3 separate regions of the Homo sapiens genome follow, and regions 2 and 3 are each linked to region 1. The links are contacts of gene promoters, found by promoter capture Hi-C in blood cells and fetal thymus (Javierre and others, 2016). All regions are on one chromosome and are shown on one strand. Each heading gives the region's core, a stretch centred on a gene start or on the middle of the fragment in contact. The rest is flanking DNA. Distances are from core to core; before and after follow the strand shown.

What was found. The method cuts DNA at HindIII sites, captures the fragments that hold promoters and counts their contacts. A CHiCAGO score of 5 or more calls a contact.
Region 2: a contact is called between a fragment that was not itself captured here and the fragment with the promoter of PPP4R1 in region 1, in 1 of 17 cell types (neutrophils). The highest score is 8.7, in neutrophils.
Region 3: a contact is called between a fragment that was not itself captured here and the fragment with the promoter of PPP4R1 in region 1, in 2 of 17 cell types (neutrophils and endothelial precursors). The highest score is 7.2, in neutrophils.

The regions. Positions count from the first base shown.
Region 1 is chr18:9,611,441-9,615,808 of GRCh38, reverse strand. It overlaps PPP4R1 (protein phosphatase 4 regulatory subunit 1), which reads left to right and starts at 1,250. Exons shown (of 20, transcript NM_001042388.3): 1 at 1,250-1,331; 2 at 1,539-1,583. The coding sequence starts at 1,325. It overlaps PPP4R1-AS1 (PPP4R1 antisense RNA 1), which reads right to left and starts at 1,002. Exons shown (of 3, transcript NR_110773.1): 1 at 795-1,002. RefSeq lists silencers at 554-1,063, 1,164-1,433, 1,534-1,783 and an enhancer at 2,054-2,133. The HindIII fragment of the contact is 7,461 bases long and covers 1-3,696 here.
Region 2 is chr18:9,802,650-9,807,017 of GRCh38, reverse strand. All of the region lies in intron 3 of RAB31 (RAB31, member RAS oncogene family), which reads right to left. Among named protein-coding and RNA genes, the nearest start is that of TXNDC2, 81 kb to the left of the region's middle. The HindIII fragment of the contact is 6,092 bases long and covers 1-4,368 here.
Region 3 is chr18:9,753,066-9,757,433 of GRCh38, reverse strand. All of the region lies in intron 1 of RAB31 (RAB31, member RAS oncogene family), which reads right to left. Among named protein-coding and RNA genes, the nearest start is that of RAB31, 47 kb to the right of the region's middle. The HindIII fragment of the contact is 936 bases long and covers 1,346-2,281 here.

The DNA of each region.
Region 1 (4,368 bases), core at 1-2,500:
CAACACATTGTCCTTGGTCAAGACTACAACGTAGAAAGGAACAAGCTAATTAACTACTTAGAATTCCCTCTCCTAAGAGACCACATCGCCAAAGTGGCACCATGACACAGCTTGGTGTTTTGTTGGTCACTTTAGGAGAACACCATTTTGGAGGCCTTGGGTGGAGCTGGAGATAGAGCCATGGAGGTAGAATCGTGTCGGAAAACCTGGGTTTAGCCCCATTTTGTACTTGGGCGTTTGAGCTAATCGCTTAAGTCACGTAAAACAACAAGACTAATAAAGTCTGGGATACAGACTTTAACACCTCAAGTGCTGCCAAAAGTATTTAGAAGACAAAGCGAATCATAGGCACCCTTCACCGAGCACCTCCTAGACATCAAGAACCATGCTAGGTTCCCTACATTCTTCATTTAATGCCAATAACCCCACGAGGCAGTTATCACCTTCATTCTACAAATGGGCCCCACTCCTACCAATTAACTGGCTGAATCAGGATCTGACCCCGGGCCTGCCAACGCTCCCGCTGGTGGATTGCCCGCCTTGTCAGCTCGAGTTGGCAGGACGTGGGAGTAAAAACCCGGCGCCCCAGCCTTCACCGTGCTGCACGAGGAAGCTGGCTAGGCAGGCATGACTTTGTCAGTCAACCATCCCGCAGCCGGGCCCTGGGCTTTGTTAGCAGCCACTTGGCGAGGGCCCCGGGCGGGTGGGGAGGCGGCGCTTCCTCCAAGAGGAGGTGGGACCCCGGCCCCGACGACCTCGGAGCCGCCCCCGGCCCCGGATCGCCGACGACGTACGTGCAGGCCTGGGGATGGGGCGCTGGCTGCGAGCGGCGCGCCCGCCGAGATGGCTGCGGCTGGCAGGGCGGTGGGCGAGGCCGGTGACCCAATAAAGCGGCCGGGCCGCGGGAGGCCCCGCCCGGCCGGGTTCCGGCACTCGCCGCAGGGTCCCGGCCGGCGGCAGGTTGCGCGCCCCCGTCCGCAGCGCTCGGCGTGAGGGCGGCTCGGGAGGAGGGTGTGAGCGCGCGTCGCCGGGCCGGGACCCGGCAAGCAGCGGGAAAGGCGGGAGGCGGGAGCGCCGGTCGCCCGGGAGCCGCGCGGAGGGGCAGGCGGGGCGGGGCGGGGCGCGGCCGGGGGCCCGGGCGGCCGGGAGCCGCGCCGCCCGCGGCAGGCCCGGGCCCTCGGCCCGCCCCGCGCGCGCGCCCCCGCCAGCCCGGCCCTCCTCCTCCCCGCCGCCCCTCCCGCGCGCGTCCACCGGCTCCCCGGCTCGCGCCGCTCCATGTAGCCCCGGCTCCCCGGGCGGCCGCGGAGGAGGGGGCGACCACAAGATGGCGGGTACGTGGCCCCCTGTTCTCCGGGCGGCGGCGGCTCCTCGAGCCCACCCGCCCTCCGCCGCAGCCCTGAGTGGCTGCCGGGCCGGGGCCGGCGTGGGGTCCCGGCGCGGGAAGGCGCCCCCGGGGCGGGGGGGAGGCGGGCGGGGGGGGGGCGTCGCGCCGGGCCCCGGGGCGCTGACCGGGCCTTTCTTCTCTCCCCTCGGCGCAGACCTCTCGCTGCTTCAGGAGGACCTGCAGGAGGACGCAGACGGATGTGAGTGGCCCGGCCTCGCGGTGGCCTGGCAGTCCGCGGGGAGCGGCCGGGGAGGGCGGGCGGCGGCGAGGCCTGGGCCGGGCCCTGGCTGGCTGAGGGGACGGTGGGCGAGGGCGGCCCCAGGCGGGCTGGGGTGGCGATCGGGGGGGAAAATCTCGCGTCCGTGAGGAAACGGCGCGCCCAGGTTCCGCTGGGGGAGGGAGACGCCCGGAGTAACGCCCAAGTTCGCTTTCCGCCCTTCGCTCTCTTCTCCCGGCGCCCCCGAATCGCCTGCGGGCTCAGCAGTGGCGCGGCTGTTTTGGAAGGAGAAGCGGTGGGGCAGGATTTGAAGTGGGGTTTGGGTGTGTTTCTGCCCCTGGTGTCCCCTTCCCCCGTCACTCTAGGAAGGAAGAGGCTCGCGCGGGAGGTGTGTTTCCTTAGAGTCGCTCTTCCAGGAGCGCCCGGGGGTCAGCCTGGGCCCCGGCTAGCCGTCTGGGCTCCCCGACCCGGTTTTGGATTGTTTGAGGATGACATACCTGTCATTTTACTTTGGCTGGTAGCAGTTTTCAGATGCTCCCGATTTGATTAGTGGATTACGAGAAGGTTAGAAGGTGTGGCCTCCGCAGGAATTACTAGGTTTGGAGAGCATATTTCTTTAATGCGGATGTTCAGAAATCACCCAGCCCTCCTTCAGTGTTAACAGTGCAGCTTTCCTTTGAGGTACTGAAGTTTTTAAAGAGTTGACGCTTTTATTTTTAAAAAGACAAAGTTTCTGACATTTCCTGATGGCGACGGAATTGATATTTAGAAAGGAATTTTTCGTCTTATATGTACTTTTCTAAGCCTCAGAAAATAATTTGGGTCACGATAGAAAAGACAAAAGAGTTAAGCAGGTTTGTATTGAAAGAAGTGACAAATTGCAGTTAACTTAAAATAGTTTCTATTCTTGCTAATCTTCCAAAATAGCGACCCATCAAAAAATCAATAGGTTTTGAGATGCATTTTAAAAATGCAGAGTGTGCAAAATATATAAGCGAAGATCATGGGATACATAAGGGACCAAGAAATTGTTCTGAGTTGAGATGATAACCATAGTAGGATTGTGGTCTGTTTAGTGGAAAGCCTACCGGATGCTGAGATTGACTGTCTAGTACCTGTATAAGTAATTTCAGAGATGGCTGCAGTTTGAAATTACTCTTTTAAATACTCTGTAGTTAATCCTTAGCATTGTCTAATGTGGTTCCCTTACTCAGAGTAAACTTAATTTTTAGATTCCTGGTTGTTTTGAGTAAAGTAAGGGGGATTTACTATTTAGATGGATTATCTGAAACGAGTAATTTATCTTTAAAGTAAATGAACCACATCCAAACTTTTGCTAAGTCTGTGTTTTTAGTGAGGTGGCTCAAAACAGCTCTCTTAAAGGGAGCAGTACTCATGTAGTGAAGGGCAGCTTTAACATTTTATTTAATGTTTACCTTAAGCCACTTATCTGCCTAATAGTAAGTTTGAGATATTATTTAAGGCATCTGTTGATTTCAGATCTCTTGCCAGGTTAGGATTGGAGAAATGGCCCTGATTATGTTACCTCGAGGAGGGCTTTTTATATTTATGTTCGACTTCGTAAATAGAAGATTCATTTATTCAGCAAGTATTTATGACTGGAGCAAAAACTTCTCACTCCTGAAGGATGAAATGCAGTCTCAGTTTCTTCCTTAGCCCCCAAGAAGCACAGTGTAGAGGGGAAGGCATACCTGTGAAAAATTCAACCATGAGTTTCAACACTCTGCCAGGTACTGGGGATGGAGCTTTGAGAAAGATGGGCACAACCCATGCCCTCTAGTGGTTTACAAGCAGTTTTGAATCTAGGTGTACAGTACAGTATTACAGTTACCACTGGAGCCAGGCTGCTCTGTTTGTCTTAGCAGTGTCTTTTTGGGCAGACTTGGGCAACTCACTTAACCTCCCTATGCCTCAGTTTTGTCATTTGTAAGTAGGCATAAGAAATATTACCTACTTCATAGAGTTGTTCAAGGCTGTACATGAGTTAGTGCCTCTGAAGCACTTGGAACAATTCCTGGTAAACAGCGATGATTATGATTATGTTTGCTGTTATGAGAAAAGAGCAAGGGAAGCTTAAAAGAAGAGCAGAGAAGGAAACACTGATGTTGAACCTTACAGAATGAAGGTACTTAAAGATGCTGCCAATGCTCGCAACTAAATTTTTTTTTTTTTTGAGATGGAGTTTCACTCTTGTTGCCCAGGCTGGAGTGCAAAATGGCGCGATCTCGGCTCACCGCAACCTCTGCCTCCCGGGTTCAAGTGATTCTCCTGCCTCAGCCTCCCAAGTAACTGGGATTACAGGCGTGTGCCACCACGCCTGGCTAATTTTGTACTTTTAGTAGAGACGGGGTTTCTCCATGTTGATCAGGCTGGTCTCGAACTCCCGACCTCAGGTGATCCACCTGCCTTGGCCTCCCAAAGTGCTGGGATTACAGGCGTGAGCCACTGCGCCCGGCTGCAACTAACTTTTTAAAGATTCTGTTTCCTGTGCATTTTAATTTAGGATAAAACAGACATTGAAGGCACAATAGTTATTTGCATATTCATAATTTGGTTGAAGGCTTTGTTAGAGTAATTGCTTATTTTTCTCAGTTACTAAAGTTTTTACAGGTGATACCTTTACCCAGAATATTCAGGAACAAAGGACTTTTGGACATATGGCCAGTTGAAGGACCACTTCCCATCTCTTGTGAAGGGAGAAAGAATGAGGGGGAACACTGGGCCATGGTGCCTCCTTAGAGAGCAA
Region 2 (4,368 bases), core at 633-3,132, 190 kb before region 1:
ATCCAGTGAGCTCCAAACTGGCCACACAGCCACCAGAGAGATCCTGTTTTGAAGTGCTGGATTATGATATTTATTTACACTGACCACAGAATGTATTTATTTTTAACTTTCACTGTGGAAATTTTCAAGCATATCCACAAGAAGAGAGACTAGAATAATGGACTTCCATCTTCTCATCCCCTGACTTCAAGATCACCACTAACACATGGACCACTGGCTTCCTTTCTACCTCGTCTCACCTCCCGCTCCATTCCTACCCCCTGGAGTCTTTTGAAGCAAATACTTGACATCATCTTATGTTAACTGAACATCAGAGTGATTGATTTCTTCCTATATAAATCCAATTGTTTCACTTCCCTGTTCAGAATCCTTCAAACTTAGTATAAAAGCCAAGCTCCATTCTGTGGCATCTTGGGTGGGACCTGGTCCCTTCTTGGGCCCGCCCTGGTCCCTTCTTGGGCCCCTCCCCTGCTTGTCTCCAGCCCCGGCCTTCTCGCTGCTCCCTAAACACAGAGGCAGGCCCACCGAGCCTCCGCACCTTCCCTGACGCCTTCTAGCAGCCTGGACCCTCCTCCACCAGCATCCTCAAGGCCCCTCCCTCACTTCTGTCACACCTTTAATCAACTGCCACCCTCCCTGAGAACCCTTCCCTGAATCCCTATCTGGACCATAGCAAGGACTCGACAAATATTTAATGACTGAATGCATGTAATAAAAGTCAATAACCCTGTGAAACCAGGGAGAGAAGACAGAGTTGTTCCTGTTATTCAGATGAGAAAACTGAGGCTCAGCATGGTTAAGTGAATTGCCCAAAGACACACAGCTCTTCTTTTTTTTTTTTGAGACGGAGTCTCTCTGTGTTGCCCAGGCTGGAGTGCACTGGCGCCATCTCGGCTCACTGCAAGCTCCGCCTCCCGGGTTCACGCCATTCTCCTGCCTCAGCCTCCCGAGTAGCTGGGACTACAGATGCCTGCCACCACACCTGGCTACTTTTTTTGTATTTTTTTAGTAGAGACGGGGTTTCGCCATGTTAGCCAGGATGGTCCCGATCTCCTGACCTCGTGATCCGCCCGCCTCGGCCTCCCAAAGTGCTGGGATTACAGGCGTGAGCCACTGCGCCCAGTCGACACACAGCTCTTAAATGGTGGAAAAGACTTTGAACACAGGTCTTGACTCCAAATTCCATGCATTTTCCATTCCTGTGTTGCTTCTCTGAAATGAAACGTTGCTTCAGTTGATATAATTAAGACACAGGTTTACATCAAATGTATTCATTCATTCAACAAACAGTATCTCACTGTTTGAACGCTCAGTATGTGGCAGGCACTGTTCTGAGCAGCAGAGAAACTGGAGTGTGGTGGGCAGAATAGTGTCCCCCAAAGAGGTCCATGTCCTAATCCCCATCACCTGTGACTATGTTAGGTTACATGGGAGGTGGAATAGGGCTCATCAGCTGACCTTCATATGAGGACATTATCTTGCATTCCTTGGGTGGGCCCAGTGTCCTCACAAGGCTCCTCAACAGTGAAAGAGAGAGGCAGGGGAGTGGGAGAGAGATTTAAAATGCTACTCTGCTGGCTCTGAAGACAAAGGAAGGGGCTACAAGCCAAGGAATGCGAGTGGTCTCTGAAAAAGGCAAGGAAACAAGATTCTGCCCTTGTACCTCCAGGAAGGATTAAGGTCTGCAGATATTTTAATCTTATTCCAGTGATACTTATTTCTTTTTTTTTTTTTAATCTTTTTATGTTTTTGTTTTTGTTTTGAGACAAGGTCTCATTCTGTTGCCCAGGCTGGAGTGCAGTGGTGCAATCTCGGCTCACTGCAGCCTCAACCTCCTGGGCTCAAGTGGTCCTCCTGTCTCGGTCTCCTGAGTAGCTGGGACTACAGCTGCATGTCACCACACCTGGCTAATTTTTTAAAAACTTTTTGTAGAGATGGGAGTCTCATTATATTGCCCAGGCTGGTCTTGAACTCCTGGGCTCAAGTGATCCTCCCATCTCAGCCTCCAAGTATCTGGGACCACAGGCATGAGACCCATTTCTGACTTCTGACCTTCATAGCTCTAAGGGAGTCTATCTGTGTTGTTTTAAGCCACTGAGCGTGTGGCAATCTGTTACAGCAACAACTGGAAACAAAAAAAGAAAGTGAAGAAGGTAACAAGGTCCCTGCCCTCAAAAAGCCTCCTCTTTTTTTTGGAGTGAGGGGGAGTCTGGCACCTTCCACCGGGCCACTCTGGATGCAGAGGTCTTCCTACCACAGGTCCGTGCTCACTGCAGCCCAGCTGCCTCTGTTAGGACAGGCTGTCAGCGCCTCAGGAACAGGTTCTTCTGTTACCAAACAAAGTCTATTTGCTAATTTCCTATTCAAGAGTGACACTCATAGGCTTTATAGGGCTTTTCTACTGTATTTTAGCCAGACGTAGGAAATTAGCTCCATAAAAGAAAAGAAGAGGACAGAAGGGAAAGGGAGTGGAAGGGAGGAGAGGAAACAAAACTAGTTGAAGTGCTTCTTAGATTCTCGGCAAATCCACCTCCAGACCCCCTGAAACTCCTGTCTCAGCGGCTCTGTGTTTTGGCCCCACGTCCTCTGAGAGTTGGCAGAATGGAAACTTGGCCTCCACCCAAGAGGCACAGACAGTGCCTCATAATTAGAAGCTACTCAGGGCATCCCAGACTAAAACACACATCAGCAAAATGTCATTGCCTGACCTGGGAAGGTGTTCATCTAGCGCAGTCACTGTACCTCCCAGAGCAGCCTGTCCCCACCAAGGAGGGGGCATATGGAAGAAGGGGACACGCACTGGAGAGCAAAGGGCAACAGCAGGGTCTCCAGTGACAAAAGAACCCCCGAGGGGCAAGAGCAGGGCAGAAGCCCGTGTGTAAGCAGAAGAAGCCTGTCCACGCAGCTCTGAGGCTTTCCCCTCTGGCCGCCTCTGTGTTCCCACGGCCCAGGCCACATCCCTCACTGCCAGCATGGCCACCTCCCGGGCTCAGGGCAGAGCTGTTTACAGTGTTTCCCTAAGAACTCCCGAAAGGTATCTTCGTATATGAACATGTCCTTCCTCCTTCTCTCCTGTCGCTGGCATTCTGACACCCAGGAGGGCTGTTCTGCACCTAGATTCCTATTTTCTTACAGGACACAACCCCCGCAAATGGCACGACAGTTCTGGGGGCCACGTCTGTGGACCGAGGCAGTCCCTGCTCCACCTGCACAGCTGCCGTCAGGGTCCCCTCATGCCCCTCTCCAATACCTCTGCTCACACTTTGCTTTTGTAGTTTCCAGCACCAATTTTCAAATATCAATGAAACTCTTCAGCTGTAAAGTGCTTAATGAAGGATTCCTGGGGCTTCTCCTTAAAGGAGCTCAGCAGGCATGGCCCTCACCACAGCTGTTTATCTCACTTCAACAGCATAAACCCTATCTTCAAGCTCCAGGCCTGCCTCCTCCCCACACAATCATCACTCAGTTTTCTCTTTCAAGAGAGTTACTAGGGGCATGGAGGAAGGGAATATTTCCCTTGCCGGGATCTCAGTTTGCATTGGTAGAAAGCACAGTCATCCCAGCCTGGACAGTATAGTGAGACCTTGTCTCTGAACAAAAAACAAACAAAAAATATTAGCCAGGCATAGTGGCTGGTGCCTATAGTCCCAGCTACTCGGGAGGTTAAGGCAGGAGGATTGCTTGAGTCCAGGAGGTCAAGGCTGCAGTGAGCTATGATTGCACCACTGCATTCCAGCCTGGGTGACACAGCAAGACCCTGCCTAAAAAAAAAAAAAAGAAAGGAAAAAGAGAAGAAAAGAAAGCACAGTGCTCTTGTGAAAGGGTGGGAGGAGAGCAAAAACTCGCATGTACTCTATCCTCTCCCATGAGGAGGAATGCCTACAAAAACGTTCTATCGTGGGCTGGTGGGGATGGTGCAGGTCAGGAGCAGGATTCCGGGCTGTGCTGCTGGCTGGTGTTGCCAGCTGGGACTGTATTTCCAATGCCTGCAGGAGAAAGAAAGGAGCTGCTCATTCTGAGCTTGTAAGAGGCTCCATTCTTCAAGAACTTCCAAAGGTCAAAATTTCCTCTGACTTTACTAATGGCCTATGAATAGTGAACCACTTTTTTGACCATAGATGTTGGGGCCCTGAAGAAAGCAGGAAAGACAGCAAAAGAGTTTCTTTGGATGTCTGTAAAGCCTGAATTTGACCTCAGCTATCTGCTGCCTCCAGTTCCTTTGCTTTCTCAAGGACCCATTCAGACCCAGCGATTCCGCACAGCTTTGTGCCAGTGCATCCCAGCCCTCTGGGCACATGATCTCCAAACACCTAATCTTTCAAACCATGCAGACTGGCAGTCACTTGCAAAATTAATCTGAAGGAGGTG
Region 3 (4,368 bases), core at 564-3,063, 140 kb before region 1:
TTGTCCCCACTCCTCTCTTCTGTGTCTGACTCTTCTCCCAACAGCGGTCCTCCCAATGTAGGGTGTAGAGGCAGGAGCTACGCAGAGCAGTGGCTGCCCGCAGGCACCTGCTCCATGTCCCCACTGCAGGCCGGCTTCCCTGCTGGGCACCTCTGGCTTCTCAGAGCTTCCTTGAGAGCCACAACCATCCACCATGCCGGGTGCTGCTGTTTTGAGATGTTTCTCTGATCTTCGGGCTCTGACTCCCAGGCATCCCCTTCCCCAGCCACCCACACTGGTATTAAGTGGGATTACTGTAATAAATTCCTTTTCCCATAACACTCAGAGTAGCTCTGCTTCCTGACTGAACGCCAACTCATACTGACATGCCCACCAAGGAGAAATAACCCAGAAACAAGAGAGGAATGAATGTACTGCAGGCTAAGACGTAAACTCTGGTAGGAGCATGTCAGCTAAACCCATAGTGCAGAAAGGCACCAATCAATCAGAACAGACTCCTAAACTTATACAACTGGAGCCAAGGGCACCATCAGTTACTTCGTTAGGGAGTTTGAACTTTGTTCTGAGGGCAATGGGAGCCAATGAGACCACACAGTGGTGGAATTTTAAGAGGACTGGAGGAAAGCAAAACTGGAAACAAAGGCCATTTAGGAGCTGTTCATTCATTTGCTGCATTTTTATTGAGCACCTACTACGTGCCAAGCATTATCATAGATGACAGTGGCCTGATTTAAAGTACCAGAGTCTATCGTATCAACACTAAGACTCCACAATGACAGCTTGGCTTACATTCCATGCTCACTTCTATAGAGCAGACAAAAGAAACAGTTCATAAATCCCAACCATAATAAATTTGAAAAGTCAGCATCCTCAGACCACTCACAAATATGAATTAATGCTCAAGGCTTTGCCGACTGCCAAGCCAAGGTCCTGTGCAATACAGTTAACTGCTGTAATCTCTTAATCAGGGCACTAGATTACAACAGATGTGATTTAATCAAATGAGATATATGCACACTTGCAAACTGTACAGAGAAGAGCAAGCAGTCAATACACTTCCACATTATTTATAAGCTGGGGATATTACAGTCTGCCCACAACTTACCTGCTTTCCTGACTCTACACTGTTCTAGTTAAATAATAATGGTTTTTGACTCATGATGTATTAGGAATTGTCTTATACTCATGAAGGTTAACTATATCAGGGTCTATACTTGATCGCACTGCATGAGGAAAGGAATGTGGAAGCAAGGGAGGGAGTACAGAGTTTGAGAAAACCCTAACTCCCTATCTACTGCATCCCCACAACTACCATGCTCACATGACCTTCTCATGGTTTAAAGCTTCTCCAATCATCCAGCACTTCTGCAAGTATTTAACAGACATTACAAAATATAAATAAAAGTCATCAATGAATTTCCAACTCAAGGGAAATTACTAAGCCCTCATCTTCAATCTATGCTCTTTGGAGAAAAATGCTAAAATATTACTCTTAGTTTAAGAAATTTTACCAGGAAACACAAGGCAGCCTAAACCACAGCTGCCAGAAGAATCCACGCCACATTGCAGCCTCTGAGCAGAGGGCAGCAAAAGCCCCCACTTCCTCTTCCATTGTCCAGGCCTCCTGAGGTCAGAGATGAGGCACGCTAGCATCTTTCATTCATTCAAAGGAGAGAGGGGGTGTGACGGCTGGGACTGACAATGAAAACAGAGACAGCCTCACATGTGGACAAACCTCCTGGTAACAACCTAAATCCATGTACTGCTGCCATGAGGCCATGGAAATTCAGTCTCTGGTTCCTGGACAGTGTCCTCAACTGTTCCCCAGCCCAAGAAGAGCTGAAGCTCAAAGAGGAGGGCAAGTGACTGCAGATCAGCTCCTTACTGCTATGCTGGATATCACAGCAATGAGCTAAAATTGACAGCGTGACATTAGTCCTCAAGTACAGCCTTAGCTTACCAAAAATGCCTCCAACTCCTCCAGCACAGAAAACTAATCTGAAACCTTGCTAGAGAGTACGAAGCTCCTGCTCACAGAGGGTAAGGCCAAGGGCACTGATGGGAACCTGGACTACAAAGCAGGCACATGTGGCCAGTTGGGTTGAAAATGCAGTAAAAAATGGTGACTAAGGGAAAAGTCAAGAGAAGGCAGTCACAGACATCAAGACAAAACGGAGCTAATGAGATTCCAAGTTCCACATCATGAATATCTATGAATTATTAAGACCACTAATCATGTTATTAGTAATGATGGTGATGATAGTTAACATTCTGTTAAGCTTTCCTGTATGCTAGACTCTTTTCATTTGCATCACCTCATTTAATCTTCAATCTAATTCTATGACAGACTTACTAGTGTGACGCCTTACAGTTGGGAAAACAGGCTGGGAAAACAGTTGGGAAAACCTGGTCTGTGCCTCAGAAACCCAAGCTGTAGACCTCCATACTGTACCTACTCCTGCCTCTTCACAAACACCATCTGGGCTTGCAATCCTGTGACAAGTGCCAGAGAGACAAGCAGGTATGGTAATGCCTTTATTCTTCCACTCACTAAACACATATTCCATGTCTAGGCCACACCAGGCACTGTGTTAGACATTGGAGATTCAACAGTACATACAGTTGTCCCTCGGTATCCTGGGGGCATTGGTTCCAGGACCTCTTGCAGATACCAAAATCTGAGAATGTTCAAGTCCTGATATAAAATGTTATAGTATTTGCATATAACCCATGCACATCCTCCTGTACACTTTAAATCATCTCTAGATTACTTATAATACCTATACAACATAAATGCTATGTAAATAGTTGTTATGCCATATTGTTTAAGGAATAATTACAAGAAAAAAGTCTGGGCTGGGTGCAGTGACTCACGCCTGTAATCTCAGCACTTTGGGAGGCCTAGGCAGGTGGATCACTTGAGGTCAGAAGTTCGAGAGCAGCCTGACCAACATGGTGAAACCCCGTCTCTACTAAAAATACAAAAATTAGCCGGGTGTGGTGGCGGGCACCTGTAATCCCAGCTACTCAGGAGGCTGAGGCAGGAGAATCTCTTGAACCCAGGAAGCAGAGGTTGCAGTGAGCCAAGATCGTGCCATTGCATTCCAGCCTGGGTGACAGAGTGAGACTCCATCTCAAAAAAAAGAGAAAAAAGTCTGTACTTGTTCAGTACAGACACAATTTTTTTCCCAGTATTTGAAATCCAAAGTTGTTAAGTCCACAAACATGGAACTCACAGATACTGAGGGCTGAGAGTACCTTATTGCATAAGCACGTAAGATGCACAAACAAGGACAAGATATAGTGCTAGACCTCAAGGTTTCAACAGGATGGAGTTTTGTTTTCAATTCCTCTTCATGACGCAGAGTGGCAGGAGCCCTGCACCCCTCCTGTCTTGGGTGGGACTACTTATGCCCAGTGGTGATGCACTTGGCACCGGATAGTTTTTCTCGGGCTTGGAAAAGATTCCTTACGCATGATACACTAGAACACGCCTTGCATCAGAAGTTCATGAGAAACTCAACAATGCCTTTTCTTCATCTTAACCTACCTATCTTTTAGGAATTACAGCTCGTAGAGCACAAACACGTTCATGGTTGTATTTGATCTTCTGATGACTCTGGGAGGTATCATCGTTCCCATTTTACACATTAAGAACTTGAGCCCCACCACAATTCACAGTCGCGCTACTTGTAGAAATGGGGTTAGAGCCAATTCCCATGCCTTCATCTCCTAGTACATACTTTCTTCATTGCTAAAAGACCTTCAAAAAAGCTTTACAGAATCCACACTGGACCAGGAGAGGCCTTCAAAAGCCAAGGAAGAAAAAAGCTCAGAGCCAAGGTATCTGTCTCCATCCATTTTCTGTTATTTATAGTACCTGAAACTGAGTAATTTATAAAGAAAAGTAATCTATTTCTTATGGCTACAGAGACTGAGAGTCCAAGGTTGAGGAGCTGCATCTGGTGAGGGCCTTCCTGCTGGTGAGGACTCTGTAGAGTCCCAAGGTGGAGCAGGGCATCACATGGCAAAGGGGATGAGTTAGCTCAGGTCTTTCTTTCTCCCCTTATAAAGCCATTAATGCCACTCCTGTGATAACCCATTAATCCCATTAATACCACTCCTGTCATGGATTAACCCATTCATGACAGTAGAGCCCTCATGACCCAATTACCTCCTACAGGCCCCACCTCTCAATATACTGGGAATTAAGTTTCAACGTGAGTTTTAGAGGGGACAAACATTCAAATCATAGCAGTATCACAAATAAAGCCATTCATTTCTTATAATTGAGCAACTTTGGTTAATTTTATATTAAAAATCATTTTATGCAAATAAGTATAGACAACTTAATAAGAATCCCACAGC